Linked DNA regions of Homo sapiens: region 1 is linked to region 2. Evidence: promoter capture Hi-C in 16 types of primary human blood cells and fetal thymus (Javierre and others, 2016). All regions are on one chromosome and are shown on one strand. The core of a region is centred on a gene start or on the middle of the fragment in contact, and the rest is flanking DNA. Distances in the headings are between cores, read along the strand shown.

Region 1 (3,736 bases), core at 201-2,700, 550 kb after region 2:
TTTCATATTCTGATCTGAATACTGGTTGCACAGGCATGTGCATATGTAAACGTACCTTCATAAGTTTTGTTCTGTATATACAATATTGCTCAAGTTTAAAATTTTAACTTAAAGAAAAACTCAATTCAAATAACTGAAGAACTATCTTGTAGAAGACAGATACCTTGTGGAGGACACAGAATTCTGTTGAACTCCAGATGGGAAGACCCCCACTAATAAAGTTTCCAAGTCAGCACAAACAATTGTCAATCTGTTGCTCTTAGCAACAGCCCAGCACATGAGAGACAGTCAAATAATTATCTGGATGAATGATCATATGAATGAATGAAACAATCAATGAATAAATATGGAACAAAACTGACCAGGATTTGAAGCCCAGTTCTACCATTATTGGCTATGTGATTTCAACCAAATGGTTTACTAAGCTTCAATTTCCTCATCTCTGAAGTAGGAATAAATTCTTCCTTGAAGGACTGTGATAAGGATTAAGTAAAATAGCTTTCAACTCTTAAACTCATTGACCTAGAAGTTACATTTCTGGGAATTTACCTTATAGGCATTCTTCCACAGTTGCATGAAAAGATAGGCATTTCATAAGTGGTTACTATCATCATCATCACCATTGCTATAGTTTGAATATGTCCCCTCCAAAATTCAGGTGTTGCCATTGTGATAGTATTAAGGGGTGGGGCCTTTAAGAGGTGATTAGGCCATGAGAGCTTCCCCCTCGTGAAAGGGATTGGGTGCCGTTATAAAGGGGCTTGTCCTTCTGCCTATTGCCATGTGGGAACACAGCAAGAAAGTTCTCACCAGATACTGGCACCTTGATCTTGGACTTCTCAGCCTCCAGAATTTTTGAGGAAGAAAAAAAAATATGTTCTTTATAAATCACCAGTCTCAGGTATTCTGGCATAGCAGCACCAATGGACTAAGAGAGAAATCATTGCTATCATTTCCATTGACAACATCCCCAAGGAAGCTGCCTTGGAAAATTGCATCCCAACAGATGCTGGGGGACTCCTGTCTAGGATGCAGGAGAGGAGATGCCTCCGGGGCTGGAAGCCTGTGCAGGGTGGCCTCTGAGGCCCCCTTCTACTCTCCAGTTCTGGAATGAGTTATTCTTCCCATCATGGGCCCTGTCTTAGGAGAGAGAGCAATGTGCCACGTTCAGCCTGCCCTCAAAGCATTGAGGGAGCTGCTCTCCTCCCTCTGGTTATTGGGGAATCCCAGGGTAGCCAGAAGGTAGCCTAAGAAGAGAGAAGGAACACCTAGGCTTTTCTTCCCTCCTTCTTCCTCCCCATCACACTCATCAAGACTCTCCACGTAACACCAGAGCCCAGAGTTCAAAGGAAGTGGGGGAACCGTTGTTCTAGCACTGAGAGGGTGACAATGACAGTACAGCTGGAGCTCAGCATGTGACCACCGTTAGCATCATCCACATTTATAGGCAGTACCCTGCAACAGACAGGAGAATCCATGGTTCCCTTAGAAATGTCAGCGTGGCACCCACCTCCACTTGCTCTTCTCCAGCTATTTTTACCACAGTCAAAATCGGGCAGTACAAGACCAAGGACCAGCCAGACCAGCTGGATTCAAATCCTAACTCTGCTATTTGCTAGCTGTGTGATCTTGGGCAAGTTACTTAACTTCTCTGTGCTTCAGATTCCTCATCTGAAAAAAAAGGATAACACATCTGCTGCAATGTGTCATCATGAAGATGAAATTAGTTAACATGAATAAAGTGCTTAACTCAGTGCCTGGTGCATGGTGCATGATCCTATTTGGCAGCATCATGAGATGAAATGGGGCGCTTGCCTCGAAAAAGATATTTGAGGTTCTTGTTGTCCATCCTGTTTGTGACCTTGCTCAAGTCACTTAATGTCTCAGGGCCTCAGTCTTTAACTTGTGAAGTGGTGCTGATCCGCCTGCCTTGACTGTGCTCAGGGATCTTAAGGATCAAACATGAGAACATTAGTAAAAAGGCTTCTGAAAGGATAAAAAGGAGAACGATCATTATGGCCACACTGAGGCATGCAGAGCCCGTAAACAGAAGTCAACAGTGTGCTGCTGGCTGTGAGAGGTTCTAGAATGATCTCACCAACAGTCACGTGGCTGGGGAGAATCACCTGGGAAGCCAAGCACACATGGTGGGGATGCTGCCCTGATGTCTCACCTCCCAGCCCCTCCCCTCACAAGAGGGTCAGAGCTTGAGGCACATGTACTGTTAGAAGGTGGCGGATGCTTCCTTTTTCCTGGGCCCACTTCCTCCTACTACAGCCCCCCCTTCTACCCTTGGAGGTACCCAGGATTCTGTACCTGGAAAGGGGCCACAGCCTTCCTGATCTCAGCTGAGACTACCTCCTCTAAGCCCAGGACTGTGCAGGGGCTGAATGATGAGGACTAAAGACAAGTACAGCAAGGCCCCACCCTCACGGAGTTTAGGGTGACTGTGGCTGCAAGCCGGACACAGCTGGACAAGCTTTGCAGGAAACAATGGAACAATTATGAATTGGATGTAATCAGGGAACTCATGGTGGACTGGAATCAAGGAGGGCTTCATGGAAGAGATGGGATCAGAACTGGGCTTTCAGAGTGAGGACAGGAAGAGGGAGAAAGGGGAAGACAAACAAGGCCATGGGCAGGCACAGAGCACACATTCAATAAATACTTGCTGAATGAATGAATGAGTGAATGCATGGATGACTATGGCGCTTACGGGGACTGGTGAGCCACTTTGGAGTCAGCATTGAGAATTTAAATGGCTTCAGAGACTAGGCAGGCAGCACTGATGAGTAAACCAGACCTAGTATGAGATGACAGGGAGTGGTGGAGACTGTGATAAGCTGGACGTCCACAGCCTATTGGCATTCACAGAAAAAAGGATTTCAAAACGCTGGAAAGGAAAAAAACAACTTAAACTCTGCTGGCCAAAACCAGCTCTAGGGTCACAGTTCACTTCTTTGGTTTACCTGGCAAGGAGTTAGAGCAATTTCAAGCAGGTCTCATGTGGCCCAGGGAAAGATGAGACTAGAAGGACAAGGCCCTGGGGTCCAGAGCACCGGCCGCCTTCGACATATGGGATGGACATCTCCTTGCAAAGCCCCAGGCTCCCTGTCTCCATCAACCACAGTGGGCATAGGATGAGCTGTCAGGCTTCCTCCCCAAGACATCCTTTCATGACCCCAGCAGTTCAGGGCGCTCTGCCTGATGCAGACCACCTACTCGGGGACCAGACTGGAACGTGGCTTTGGGGATGTTCAGGAGCTGGAGAACATGGGGCCATGGGGGCACTGTGGCTCTAGTCTATTCTGTTCCACTGAGAATCGGGGGCTAAAGGCAAGTTGCTCCACCTGTCTGTACAACAGGGACCCCACCATCCCTGCATAATGCCTGCCTTCTTACTCCGAGGGGATATGGAACAGACACATGGGATAATCAGTGAGGAAGGGCTTGCTCCGAAATCTTAGAATGACTCCCCATAGACAGGAACAGACCCCTGCCCACCGCAGCCAGCTGCACCACCCGCCCCCCGCAGGCTGGGACCCCGCACCTCTGGCCTTGTAGTACTCGTGTTCCAGCTCCCCCTCGTCGTCCTCCGAGGCGTAGTTCAGCAGCTCCGCTTCGTACAGGGCCAGGAAGTCGATGTCCTTCTTCCTCCGCCTTTTCTTCTGGGGCATCATTCTGTCGGCTGCCTTCTCCCAGCGCTCGCAGGCTCACTGTGCCGCCTCCTCACACC
Region 2 (3,973 bases), core at 379-2,878:
GGCAACATAGTGAGACCCTCTTTCTACAAAAAATACAAAAAGTTAGCTGGGTGTGGTGGTGCACGCCTATAGTCCCAGCTACTAAGGAGGCTGAAGCGGGAGGATTGCTTGAGCCCAGGAGTTCAAGGTTGCAGTGAACTGTGATCACCACTATACTCCAGCTTGGACGAAAGAGCAAGACCCTGTCTCTAAAAATAAAATAAAATAAATAATAAATAAGCTTGGCTTGCTAGTAAGTTTCCTTTGAAAAGAAAATCATTTTAGGCTGGGTGTGTTGGCTCACACCTGTAATCCTAGCTCTTTGAGAGGCCGAGGCAGGCAGATCACTTGAGGTCAGGAGTTTGAGACCAGCCTGATCAACGTGGTGAAACCCCCCGTTCTACTAAAAATAAAAAAATTATCCCTGCATGCTAGCACAAGCCTGTAATCCCAGCTACTAGAGAGGATGAGACAGGAGAATTGCTTGAGCCTGGGGACGGGGGTTGGAGGTCGCAGTGAGCCAAGATCATGTCACTCTGCACTCCAGCCTAAGCGACAGAGAAACACTCCATCTCAAAAAGAAAAGAAAAGGTCGGGCGCAGTGCCTGTAATCCCAGCACTTTGGGAGGCCAAGGCGGGCGGATCACCTGAAGTCAGGAGTTCGAGACCAAGCTGGCCAACCTGATGAGATCCCATCTTTACTAAGATACAAAAAATTAGCTGGGCGTGGTGATGCACACCTGTAATCCCAGCTACTCGGAAGGCTGAGGCAGGAGAATCGCTTGAACCCGGGAAGCAGAGGTGGCAGTGAGCTGAGAGCCGAGAGCCGAGATCGTGCCACTGCCCTCCAGCCTGAACAACAGAGACTCCATCTCAAAAAAAAAAAAAAAAAAAAAAAAGCTGGGCGCGCTGGCTCACGCCTGTAATCCCAGCACTTTGGGAGGCCGAGGTGGGCGGATCATGAGGTTAGGAGTTCGAGACCAGCCTGGCCAATATGGTGAAACCCCGTCTCTACTAAAAACACAAAAATTAGCCAGGCGTGGTGGCGCTTGCCCGTAGTCCCAGCTACTTGGGAGGCTGAGACAGAAGAATCGCTTGAACCCAGGAGGCAGAGGTTGCAGTGAGCCGAGATCATGCCACTGCACTCCAGCCTGGGCGACAAAGCGAGACTCTGTCTCAAAAAAAAAAAATGTCCCTAGTTTTTAGGTTGGGGGAACTAACGGATCAAGTTAAGATTGCCTCAGCTCATATTGCCAGGGTAGAATATAAATTCTGAGTGGATGCAATCAATGTGGAAGAAACACAAACATCTTGCTAAGCAAGAACCAAACGTTTCAAGTACTTTTTTTTAACGACAAGTGATTCAAACAAGAAATAAAAATAAAAGAAAGAAAAAACAACCTGGTTCTAGGCGGCTCTATCTCTCGTAGTGTTGATTATACCGCGGAAGGCGGGAAGAGCTGGGAAGTGGCAACGAAGCGAGGCTTGCAATGCCAGAGCCTTCGACCAGCCTTGCACAGGGGCTCAACGGCCAGGAGTCTCAGGTAAAACCACAACTCCCAGAAATCCCGGGCCCGGCGAGGGGCGGGTGCCAACGGCGTGTGGGCGGGGCCTAGGGAGTGAGCGGGGCGCATCTCCCGCTAGGAGTTCCTAGTAAAGTGGCGGGAGCCGCAGCTATGGAGCCGCAGGAGGAGAGAGAAACGCAGGTGATGGGGCGGGAATGGGGATCGTTGGCCTCCTGGAAAACGCGTTTTTGACACCCCCGCGCCGACAGCGGGTCTCCTGTGCGCGCCACGTCTACTTTTCTCTCCCCTATTCCACACATCCGTCTTTTAGTGCCGCCGTCACTATCTGCAAGCCCCCCGTGCTTAGACTCTCCTGAAGGCCTTTCCCTTCCTGCCCGGGCCTCCCCTTGTTTGGATCTGGCCCGGGAGAGGCGTTGAGCAGCCCGTGTCCACAGACTCTGGAGTGGGACTTATGAAGCCAAACCCGCCTTCCGGTTCGCTGCTCAGCCCGGCGGCTTCCACATCTGAACTGCTTCCGCGCCCTGCATCCCAACACTGGGAGCCTCCCGGCGCGGCGGGGCTTCTGGTGATCGAGGGACAATTGCTTTTTTCAGACCATGCACGGTCTAATAATGCGTTCGCATTATTATGGTCTATTAAGCTTTAAGGTTTTTCAAGCGAGGCAAATTGTTAGCCTGTACCGCTTTTGCAGATTTGGAAAAGAACGGATTGTTCTCTGGTAATTTTCAGTATTGTACGTTTCTTTGTGTACTTGCTCACTTTTTATTTCCTGATATCTAGTATCTCCCTAAAGACAAGTGAGGTTGTGAAGTAGGACTCCAAAATAGTCACAGAAAGCATTTAGTTTGCTTTTGATCACTTCTTTGTCATATTCTCATCGAGCCATTACAGTAAACAAGGCTTATAATATTTGTCTTTCTTTTAATGGTTAGGTTGCTGCGTGGTTAAAAAAAATATTTGGAGATCATCCTATTCCACAGTATGAGGTGAACCCACGGACCACAGAGATTTTACATCACCTTTCAGAACGCAACAGGGTCCGGGACAGGGATGTCTACCTGGTAATAGAGGACTTGAAGCAGAAAGCAAGTGAATACGAGTCAGAAGGTGAGATTAAGTCCAGAGTTTTGAACGAGAATAAATAGAGGTAACCAAATTTTATAACACTAAAGTATACAGGATTAATTTACTGTAGACTACTTGTTTTGCTCCTTTATTTTTCCCAGATTTTCTTCCACTCTGTTATAGTAGTAACTTTATTGTTTTATGTTTATATATATGTATATGTATGTGTGTGTGTGTGTGTGTGTGTGTGTGTGTGTGTGTGTGTGTATATATTTTAGACAATCTTGCTCTGTCGCCCAGGCTGGAGTGCAGTGGTGTGATCTCAGCTCACTGCAACCTCCATCTCCTGGGTTCAAGTGATTCTCATGCCTCAGCCTCCCAAGTAGCTGGGACTACAGGCCTGCACCACCACACCCGGCTAATTTTTGTGTTTTAGTAAAGACAGGGTTTCACAATATTGGCCAGGCTGGTCTCGAACTCCTGACTTCAGGTGATCCGCCTGCCTCAGCCTCCCAAAGTGGTAGGATTAGAGGCATGAGCCACCCTGCCTGGCCAGTAGTAATTCTCTAAGTAATAAATGTTATTATACTAAATATCTTATTGGTACTCTGATAGCAAAACAGTAAGCCTTAAAAGAGTCTAAACTTGTTAGTCTGACACACAAGATGCCTTGTGGTTTTTTACTTACCTATCTGTTTTTTCTGTTTCCGGTCTCCATGATTTAGTCATACGGACCTATCAGGACACCTGAGGTGGTGGCCATGAAATGTGAGACTTGGACGAAATTACTCTATGACTACGTATCAGGAGATTGCATTAGAATTTTCTGCTGGGCATATATAGTTTGAAAAAGTGCATTCAAGGCCGGGCACGGTGGCTTACGCCTGTAATCCCAGCACTTTGGGAGGCCGAGGCGGGCGGATCACAAGGTCAGGAGATCAAGACCATCCTGGCTAACACGGTGAAACACCGTCTCTACTAAAAATACAAAAATTAGCCGGGCGTGGTGGCGGGCGCCTGTAGTTCCAGCTGCTCGGAAGGCTGAGGCCGGAGAATGGCGTGATCCCAGGAGGCGGAGCTTGCAGTGAGCCGAGATCGCACCACTGCACTCCAGCCTGGGCGACAGAGCAAGACTCCGTCTCAAAAAAAAAAAAAGAAAAAAAGAAAAAGTGCATTCAAGATGCCTATTGTTTTGATAATACAAACCACAAAAGTAAAGATTGACAAAAATCTTTTTAGATACGAGAATACACCAAAGAGAGGAAGTGAGGCCTGCATTTGCCCTATATTTAATCAGATGTATGGTATTTGTTACATATGATATTTTGAATATAGTGCAGTTTATATTTGATTCTATTGCATATGTGCTTTTTTCCAGTTTTCTTTTAAAAGTTAATATACAG

Evidence for each region. The method cuts DNA at HindIII sites, captures the fragments that hold promoters and counts their contacts. A CHiCAGO score of 5 or more calls a contact.
Region 1: a fragment that was not itself captured here is called in contact with the fragment with the promoter of HAUS1 in region 2 in 2 of 17 cell types (non-activated CD4 T cells and naive CD4 T cells); the score reaches 7.6 in non-activated CD4 T cells.

The regions. Positions count from the first base shown.
Region 1 is chr18:46,653,354-46,657,089 of GRCh38, forward strand. LOXHD1 (lipoxygenase homology PLAT domains 1) reads right to left here. Exons shown (of 41, transcript NM_001384474.1): 1 at 3,551-3,736. The coding sequence starts at 3,680. Among named protein-coding and RNA genes, the nearest start is that of LOXHD1, 2.0 kb to the right of the region's middle. The HindIII fragment of the contact is 2,054 bases long and covers 424-2,477 here.
Region 2 is chr18:46,102,757-46,106,729 of GRCh38, forward strand. HAUS1 (HAUS augmin like complex subunit 1) reads left to right here and starts at 1,629. Exons shown (of 9, transcript NM_138443.4): 1 at 1,629-1,685; 2 at 2,438-2,612. The coding sequence starts at 1,656. It also overlaps a transcript of ATP5F1A not described here. RefSeq lists a silencer at 1,454-1,553 and an enhancer at 1,944-2,033. The HindIII fragment of the contact is 1,925 bases long and covers 219-2,143 here.